2 separate regions of the Homo sapiens genome follow, and region 2 is linked to region 1. Evidence: promoter capture Hi-C in human tissues and cell types (Jung and others, 2019). All regions are on one chromosome and are shown on one strand. The core of a region is centred on a gene start or on the middle of the fragment in contact, and the rest is flanking DNA. Distances in the headings are between cores, read along the strand shown.

What was found. The method cuts DNA at HindIII sites, captures the fragments that hold promoters and counts their contacts. A contact is called where the count stands out against the background at its distance.
Region 2: a fragment that was not itself captured here is called in contact with the fragment with the promoter of COX19 in region 1 in 3 of the 25 tissues and cell types used here (IMR-90 fibroblasts, hippocampus and lymphoblastoid cells).

Annotation. Positions count from the first base shown.
Region 1 is chr7:972,742-977,196 of GRCh38, reverse strand. It overlaps COX19 (cytochrome c oxidase assembly factor COX19), which reads left to right and starts at 1,648. Exons shown (of 3, transcript NM_001031617.3): 1 at 1,648-1,769; 2 at 3,905-4,016. The coding sequence starts at 1,688. RefSeq lists enhancers at 662-1,542, 2,174-2,243, 1,543-2,425 and silencers at 1,474-1,753, 1,774-1,933. The HindIII fragment of the contact is 7,753 bases long and covers 1-4,455 here.
Region 2 is chr7:1,180,462-1,184,916 of GRCh38, reverse strand. No RefSeq gene overlaps it. Among named protein-coding and RNA genes, the nearest start is that of ZFAND2A-DT, 22 kb to the right of the region's middle. RefSeq lists an enhancer at 2,923-4,122. The HindIII fragment of the contact is 4,268 bases long and covers 382-4,455 here.

The sequences.
Region 1 (4,455 bases), core at 399-2,898:
TGCCATGACAACATCGACACGCAAAGGCCGGGCCTTACCGCTTACAGTACACTTTCATTCTGCCCTAGGTTGAGCTGTAACTACCCTCCACCCCCATTCGTATGGTGAAGCCACTAGGACCTTAGGATGTGACCTTTGCTTTGGAAATAGGTGCCAGGTGCGGCGGCTCACGCCTGTCATCCCAGCCCTTTGGGAGGCTGAAGTGGGCGGATCACTTAAGGTCAGGAGTTCGAGACCAGCCTGGGCAACATGGTGAAACCCCGTCTCTACGAAAAGTACAAAAAATTAGCCGGGTGTGGTGGCGCATGCCTGTAATCCCAGCTACTCTGGAGGCTGAGGCAGGAGAATCTCTTGAACTCGGGAAGTGGAGGTTGCGGTGAGCCGAGATCGTACCACTGCACGCCCGTCTAGGTTACAAAGTGAGACTCTGTGTTGAAAAAAAATATATTAGCTTAGCTGGGTGTGTTGGTGGCGCCTGTAATCCCAGCTACTCGGGAGGCTGAGGCAGGAGAATTGCTTTAACCTGGGAGGTGGAGGTTGCAATGAGCCAGGATCGAGCCACTGTACTCCAGCCTGGGCAACAAGAGAGAGACTCCGTTTTAAAAAACAAAACAAAGAAATAGGGTTGCTGCTGATATAATTAGTTAAGATGAAGTTATTGGGACGGCCCCTAACCCAACATGACTGCTATCCTTATAAAAAGAGGAAATTTAGGTTGGGCATGGTGGCTCATGCCTATAATCCCGGCATTTAGGGAGGCTGAGGCAGGAGGATTGCCTGAGCCCAGGAGTTAAGGACCAGCCTGGGCAACATAGGGAGACTCCATCTCTACGAAAAATAGAAAAATTAGCCTGGTGTGGTGGTGTGTGCCTGTGGTCGCAGCTACTCAGGAGGCTGGGGTGAGAGGATCGCTGAGCCCAGGAGGTCGAGGCTGCAGTGAGTCGTGATCATGCCACTGCACTCTAGTCTGGGCAACAGAGCAATACCCTGTCTCAAATAAATAAATAAAAATAGTAAATTTGGACATGCGCAGGACACCATGGGAACGTAGGGGCCGAGACCAGGTGGTGCTTCTGCAAGCCAAGGAACCTCACAGGCTGGCGGCCCCCAGAAGCTGGGAGGCTGGGACTGTCCCCAGGGCCCCCACTCTGCCCACTGCTTGGACTCCAGACCCCAGGACTGAGAGCACATTCCTGTTGTTGAAGCTGCTCGGTGGTGTCACCTGGCTCCAGCAGCCGCAGGCAGCGAGTCCACAGGCTCTCCTGTCCCTCCTGTGCCGCCTTCCTCCCCGGATGGGCCCCGTGATGAGGTCTCTGTGCGATGGGGAAACCGAGGCCCCAGCAGACACCTGGGATGCAGAGACGCCGGCACCGCTATGTGTCCTCGGGCAATTCGCTGAACCTTTCTGGGCCTCGGTTTCTCACCAATTCCAAAAGCTGATTCTGCTACCGACTGCTGTGAGGGTCCCAGGGGACGGGAAAGCCCGGGCAGCGCCCACCGGGGCTCAGGAGCTTGCTGACTCCGAGGGGGTGGGGCCGGGCCTGGGCAAGGGGTGGGGCCGGGCCTGGGCAAGGGGCGGGGACGGGGCCTGCTCGACGTGCTCGGCGCTCCCGGGGTGCCTGCTCGGCGCTCCGCCGGCCGCCCTGCGTACGCTCGCAAGGCGCTCGCAGACTCCGGAGTCGCCAACATGTCGACCGCCATGAATTTCGGGACCAAGAGCTTCCAGCCGCGGCCCCCGGACAAGGGCAGCTTCCCGCTGGATCACTTAGGTGAGCGGCGGAAGGTCGGCGGGCAGGGGTCTGCGATGGGGGGTCTGGGTCGCGGCCCAGCGCGGAGCCCTATGGGGTGCCGGCATCTAGCGCGGTGCAGGCGGGGAAACTGAGGCACGGCGGCCCGCCCCTCCGCCCCACCCAGCCCTGGGTCACTGCTGCGGCATGGACCCTGCAGGTGGGAGCTGGCAGGACCGTGGCCCCCGTGACGAGGGCAGCGACACCGACTCCTTGCGTCAGGCTTCCGGGTCTCCGGCTCCGCCCTGACTCACCCGGCGGGCTGTCTGTGCCCCGGGTTTGCAGAGCGGGGCATTCGGCGGCCACGAAGCCCGCAGCTGCAGCCGAGGCTTAGACGGTGCCTAGCGATGTCTGCTGCAAAGCTCAAAAGTGCTGCTGATCTCCCAGTGCTTCTGGCCGTATTCCGGTGGGGTTGCCTCCGTGGACATGAAGGCTTCGAAAAAGGATCTGTGGGCCGGGCGCGGTGGCTCATGCCTGTGATCCCAGCCCTTTGGGAGGCCGAGGTGGGCGGATCATTTAAGATCAGGAGTTCGAGACCAGCCTGCCCAACATGGGGAAACCCCGTCTCTACTAAAAATACAAAAATTAGTTGGGTGTGATGTGGCTCGCCTGTAGTCCCAGCTACTCGGGAGGCTGAGGCAGGAGAATCGCTTGAACCGGGAGACGGAGGTTGCAGTGAGCCGAGATCGGGCCACTGCACTGCAGCTTGGGCGACAGAGTGAGACAACGTCTCAAAAAAAAAAAGAAAGAAAAGAAAAGAAAAACGATCTGTGAATTACTGTTTCTTTCCCAACATTTTATTGTGACATTTTCAAATAGCAAAAATGAAAGAATTTTTACCCTGAACTCTCCTGTGACCATCACCTACATTGCACCTTAACCTCGTACTGGGCTGACTTTACCTCGTTGTGGGTTTTTTCCATTGTTGTTTTCAGCATGTTTATGAAGGAAACAAGTTTGGGTTTGATTGTTTTTGTTTTGAGACACGGTCTCACTCTGTTGCTTAGGCTGGAGTGCAGTGGTGCAATCATAGCTCACTGAAGCCTCGGCCTCCTTCCTTTCTGGACTCAGGGGAGTCTCCCGTCTCATCCTCTAGAGTAGCTGGGACTATAGGTGTGCAGCGCCACACCCAGCTAATTTTTTTTTTTTTTTTTTTTTTAGAGATGGGGTTTCCCCATGTTGCCCAGGCTGGATTATTTATTTATTTATTTTTGAAATGGACTCTCACTGTGTCGCCCAGGCTGGAGTGCAGTGGTGTGATCTCGACTCACTGCAACCTCCTCCTCCCGGGTTCAAGCGATTCTCCTGTCTCAGCCTCTAGAGTAGCTGGGACTATAGGTGTGCAACACCACACCCAGCTAATTATTATTGTTTTTTTATTTTTTATTTTAAAGATGGAGTTTCCCCATGTTGACCAGGCTGGATCATTTATTTATTTATTTTTGAAATGGAGTCTCACTCTGTCACCCAGGCTGGAGTGCAGTGGTGTGATCTCGACTCGCTGCAACCTCCGCTTCCTGGGTTCAAGCAATTCTCCTGCCTCAGCCTCCCGAGTAGCTGGGACTACAGACACCCGCCACCATGCCCGGCTAATTTTTGTATTTTTAATAGAGATGGGGTTTCACCAAGTTGGCCGAGCTGGTCTTGAACTCCTGACCTCAGGTGATCCGCCCACCTCTGCCTCCCAAAGTGCTAGGATTACAGGCGTGAGCCACCGTGCCCAGCCTGGATTATTTTTAGGAGACAAGGTCTTGATCTGTTGCCCAGGCTGGAGTGCAGTGGTGTGATCAAGCTCACTGCAGCCTCGAAATCCTTTGCTCAAGCGATCTTCCTGCCTCAGCCTCCTGAGTAGCTGGAACCACAGACGTGCGCCACACCTAGCTAACTTTTAAGGTTTTTTTTGGTAGAGATGGGGGTCTCACTGTGTTGCCCAGGCTGGTCTCAAACTCCTGGGGTCAGGTGATCCTCTCAGAGTGCTGGGATTACAGGTGTGAACCACTGCGCCCGGCCTGAGGAAACAAGTTTTGAAAGGAAAAGCAGCGCAGCTCTTAAGGCTGTTGTGTGGTTGCATCACTTTTCACTCTGAAAAGAACATGCTGTTTTCTTTCTCGTTCTAGGTGAATGTAAAAGCTTTAAAGAGAAATTCATGAAGTGTCTTCATAACAATAATTTTGAAAATGCTTTGTGCAGAAAGGAATCAAAAGAATATTTAGAATGCAGGATGGAGAGGTGAGTACAGCTAAGCGTTATGATTTCCACCTCCCACTACTCCAATTAAAACTTTTTTTTTCCTGAAAGGCCATTACAGTGTGTCTTTTTCAGGCCTGGGATTCAGCTTGTGTTTTTCAGGACTGTGGAATTGTTTGCCCTTGAAATGGAGGCTTATCAGATGAAATTGTACCAAAAGCTGTTTCACAATCTTGGGAACCTCTTCTTGAGCGATAGCGTTATACATGATTGCATTCCTGAGAGCATTTTCTTTCCACATTTGGTTGCTACCGACCTGTCATTAAGGTTTCCAAATCGTGCATCATAATGCTGACTGAGTCAAAAGACCGAAGGTCGTGGGTACACAGTTTCTTTCTTTTGCATTCTCAGATGTTAAAAATATGCACTGGGTTGTTTTGCTCCACTTTGAGTTGTTGGGAATGTGACAGGGAGGACAATA
Region 2 (4,455 bases), core at 1,266-3,765, 210 kb before region 1:
GACCTCAGGTGATCCACCTGCCTTGGCCTCCCGAAGTTGTTAGCCAGGCATGGTGGTGGGCACCTGTGGTCCCAGCTACTCAGCAGGCTGAGGTGGGAGGATCGCTTGAGCCCAGGAGGTCGAGACTGCAGTGAGCTATGATTGCACCACTGCACTCCAGCCTGGGTGACAGAGTGAGACCTTGTCTCTAGGGGAAAAAATAAAAGACAAACCAAAAAACCAAGGAAGCAGCCCAGATGCCCATCACAGAACGGGTGGGTGTGAAATGCACTCATCATGGAATACTACACGATAAGGAAGCAAGGAAAACTGCTGCACATGGCCACACAGATGAACCTCACAGAACCCGAGGCCGGGTGCGGCGGCTCACGCCTGTCATCCCAGCACTTTGGGAGGGCAAGGCAGGTGGGTCACCTGAGGTCAGGAGTTCGAGACCAGCCTGGCCAACATGGCAAAAGCCCGTGTCTACTAAAAATAGAAAAAATTAGTCTGGGCACGGTGGCTTACGCCTGTAATCCCAGCACTTTGGGAGGCCGAGGCGGGTGGATCACCAGGTCAGGAGATCGAGACCATCCTGGCTAACACGGTGAAACCCCGTCTCTACTAAAAATACAAAAAAAAAAAAAAAATTAGCTGGGCGTGGTTGTGGGTGCCTGTAGTCCCAGCTACTTGGGAGGCTGAGGCAGGAGAATGGTGTGAACCTGGGAGGCAGAGCTTGCAGTGAGCCGAGGTCGTGCCACTGCACTCCAGCCTGGGTGACAGAGCGAGACTCCGTCTGAAAAAAAAGGAATGATGCCAGGTGTGGTGGCTCACACCTGCAATTCCAACACTTAGGGAGGCCGAGGCAGGAGGATCAATTGAGCCCAGGAGTTCGAGACCAGCCTGGCCAACATGGCAAAACCCTGTCTCTACTAAAAATACTAAATTAGCCGGGCGTGGTGGCGGGCACCTGTAATCCCAGCTACTCGGGAGGCTGAGGCAGGAGAGTCATTTGAACCTGGGAGGCGGAGGTTGCAGTGAGCCGAGATCGTGCTACTGCACTCCAGCCTGGGCGACAGAGTGAGACTCTGTCTCAAAAAAAAAAAAAAAAAAAGCCTGACTCTGGGCTTTGCAATATCGCCAGGAAAGGCAGGCACTCCACACCCTGAACGGAGGTAAAGTCCTTGTGCCTCCCATGGGCCCAGCTGAGCTGGACTCAGGTTCTCATCCCTCCAGGGCGGCGTCCACTGCTGGAACAGGTGTCTTGCCTGCCTCTTGCCACTTGGTGGCAGCGTGTTGACCAAAGGAGAATTGGATCTTTTTCCCCAGTTTCCCAGGAGCAAATCACAATGGAAAACCTTCAGTGGGGAGCAGTGGCTCAAGCCTCTAATCCCAGCACTTTGGGAGGCTGAGGTGGGAGGATCGCTTGAGCCCAGGAGTTTGAGATCACCCTGAGCAACATAGAGAGACCCTGTCTCTACAAAAAAATACAAAAGAAAAACTTTGCCAGGTGTGGTGGTGTGTGTCTGTGGTCCCAGCTATGGGGGAGGCTGAGTCAGGAGGATCAGTTGAGCCCAGGAGGTGGAGGCTGCAGTGAGCTGACAGTGTATCACTGCACTCCAGCCTGGGTGACAGAGTGAGACCCTGTCTCAAAACAGAAAAGAAAAGAAAGTAAAGCTTTGTAAAGGAGGTTCTCATCCCTCCAGGACCGGGTCGGCTGCTAGAACAGGTGTCTTTCCTGCCTCTTACCACTTGGTGGCAGCGTGTTGACCGAAGGAGAATTGGATCTCGTTCCCCAGTTTCCCAGGAGCAAATCATGGCTCCTGGAGAGCAAGTCATCCAGTGCATAGGATTTATCCAGAAGGCTGCGCATCGGCAGTAGCCACGGGTCTGTGTCTGCAAGAGCAGCGCATCCGGGTGCTGAGTGCTGTGGTTCCAGGGCTCCCTGAGTCTGGGGGAGTTCGCAGCAGAGGTGATGTCTACGCTGAGCGGGGTAAGGGACGGTGTGCAGAGCTAAATGGACGCCACCCTCCCTCCAAGCCCGGTCTTACCATTGTGTTCCCCATGCAAGTAGGAAAGGGGTTCATTTCCTGCCCTAAGCAAACTTGCCCAGGCTCAATAGGAGACAGGTCTCAAACTCTGAACCCTCCAAATATTCCGAGCATGGCTTCTGTTTTTAGCCAAATGCATTCACTCATTCAGAAAATACTTATTCATTTATTTAATTTATTTTTTAGAGAGTGTTTGTTTGTTTGTTTGTTTGTTTGTTTTTGAGATAGAGTTTTGCTCTTGTCTCCCAGGCTGAAGTGCAATGGCATGATCTTGGCTCACTGCAACCTCCGCCTCCTGGGTTCAAGCAATTCTCCTGCCTCAGCCTCCCAAGTAGCTGGGATTACAGGCGCCCGCCACCATGCCTGGCTAATTTTTGTATTTTTAGTAGAGATGGGGCGTCACCATGTTGCCCAGGCTGGTCTCGAACTCCTGGCCTCAGGTGATCCACCCGCCTCAGCCTCCCAAAGTGCTGGGATTACAGGCATGAGCCACCACACCTGGCCTTGTGGTTTCAATTTGAGTTTCTCTGATGATTAGTGATGCTGAGCATCATTCATATACCTTTTGGCCATTTGTTTGCCTTCTTTTGAAAAATGTCTCTTCATATCCCTTGCCCACTTTGCCCCTCCCGGTTTCAAGTGATTCTCCTGCCTCAGCCTCCCGAGTAGCTGAGACTGCAGGTACGCACTACCACACCTGGCTAATTTTTGTATTTTTAGTAGAGACGGGGTTTCACCATGTTGCCCAGCCCAGTCTTGAATTCCTGACCTCAGGTGATCCACCTGCCTCGGCTTCCCAAAGTGCTGGGATTACAGGCATGAGCCACCGCACCCGGCCTGTCTTTAATTTCAAATGCTGTGTGTCACCGATGTATAGGAAAGCAACTGACTTTTGTTTCATAACCTTGTACCCTACATTTGCTCATGAGTTCCAAAAATTGTGTTTTTCTTTTCTTTTCCTTTTTGGATTCTGTAGGATTTTCTGCAATCACGTCATTTGTGAACAAAGAAGTTTTATTTCTTCCTTCCCAATCTGTATACTGGTGATTTCCTTTTCCGGTCTTTTTGCTCTAGCGGGGACTCCCAGTTTGAGGCCTGATGGGGTGGTGGGAGGGGACGTTCCTGCCTCTTCCTGATCGTGGCTCCCTTCAGTTCCGCCTGCTGGGCCCTGAGTTGCTCCGGGAACCGCTGAGCACTGGCTCTGTAAGCCTCGGGCCCCCATACCGCTTTCCTTCGGGCCCTGCCCTACCTGCCTGCCTGCCTCCAGGCCCCACAGCCCCGTGGAGCCGCCCAGTTGAGCAGTCCTGCCCCCTCCCTGCCACGCCCCCTCGGGGGTCCTCACTGCTCCCAGATGAAAGCCCCTGTTGTCCCCAGAGGCTCTGTCTCCTTGGGGGACGTTCACCAGCTGCCTCTCAAAGGACCGCCTGAGACCAGACACTTCCGTGGCCTACGGCTTCCTCAAGGACTCTACAAGACACAGAAATCCCTGCTGTCTCCACTGAAAAGAAAGGGTGAGGAGGGTCATTTCGACATCATGTCGGAGCCGTTCCTCACTGCCCCGGCTTCCTGTGTGACCAGGTGTTGGTGAAACGAGATTAATCCACCACTCACACGCATAGGAATCCGTGACCAGGCCCCCCGCCGTGCTGGGCTGAGTGGACGGCACGGGAGACGACCCACGGACCGTTCTCGCTTTGCCTCCAGTGTCGTTCAAAGGGCACCTGCCTGAAGGAGACGTGGGGCTTTGGAGGTGCGGGATTTCTTCTTACCTCTGTTCCCACTACTTACCTTCAGAATAAATCTCTAAGTCCGGTATTAGCAAATTCTTCACAGATGTAGGCCACACAAAGCACCCTCATTGTCTGTCATAAATATAATATCTTTTAAAATCTCCAACGCGACGCACGGGCCTGTTTCTTCTCATAAATCTAGGCTGCCTGTCTCTGATCAAATTCTGCTTTTCCAGCAGTTTTACAGCTAAGTCCTCCCACATAATTTGTAATCGTTTCTTTACAAAGGACATTAAGCTAACCGTGATCCGGTGCTGAATTATGTAGCATTTACCACGCTCCTGTTTTTAGATTCCTTATCCCTTTCTAGTGGATTCTAAAAATATCAGTTAAGCCACCAACTAATTTCTAATCCTTGCTTCTATTAATATTGACCGTTCGTCTCTTAGCCTTTGTCCTTGCTTGATTAAGGAATTCAAATCTTTTCCTGAAAATGTGATTGTTGACAATATGACCGCCTCTGGCTAGAGCACCAGGCAGGAAGGGATTCTGGCTCGCGGGGGTCCGGAGACCAGCTTAGCCACAGAAAGCCCTTCAGGTAACTCGGAGTGTTCTCTCCCCGTCTCACTCTCTCGTTAGGCAAGAAACCAACAGTATCTTAACATATAGATTAAATTTTAAATTCTCCATTATCA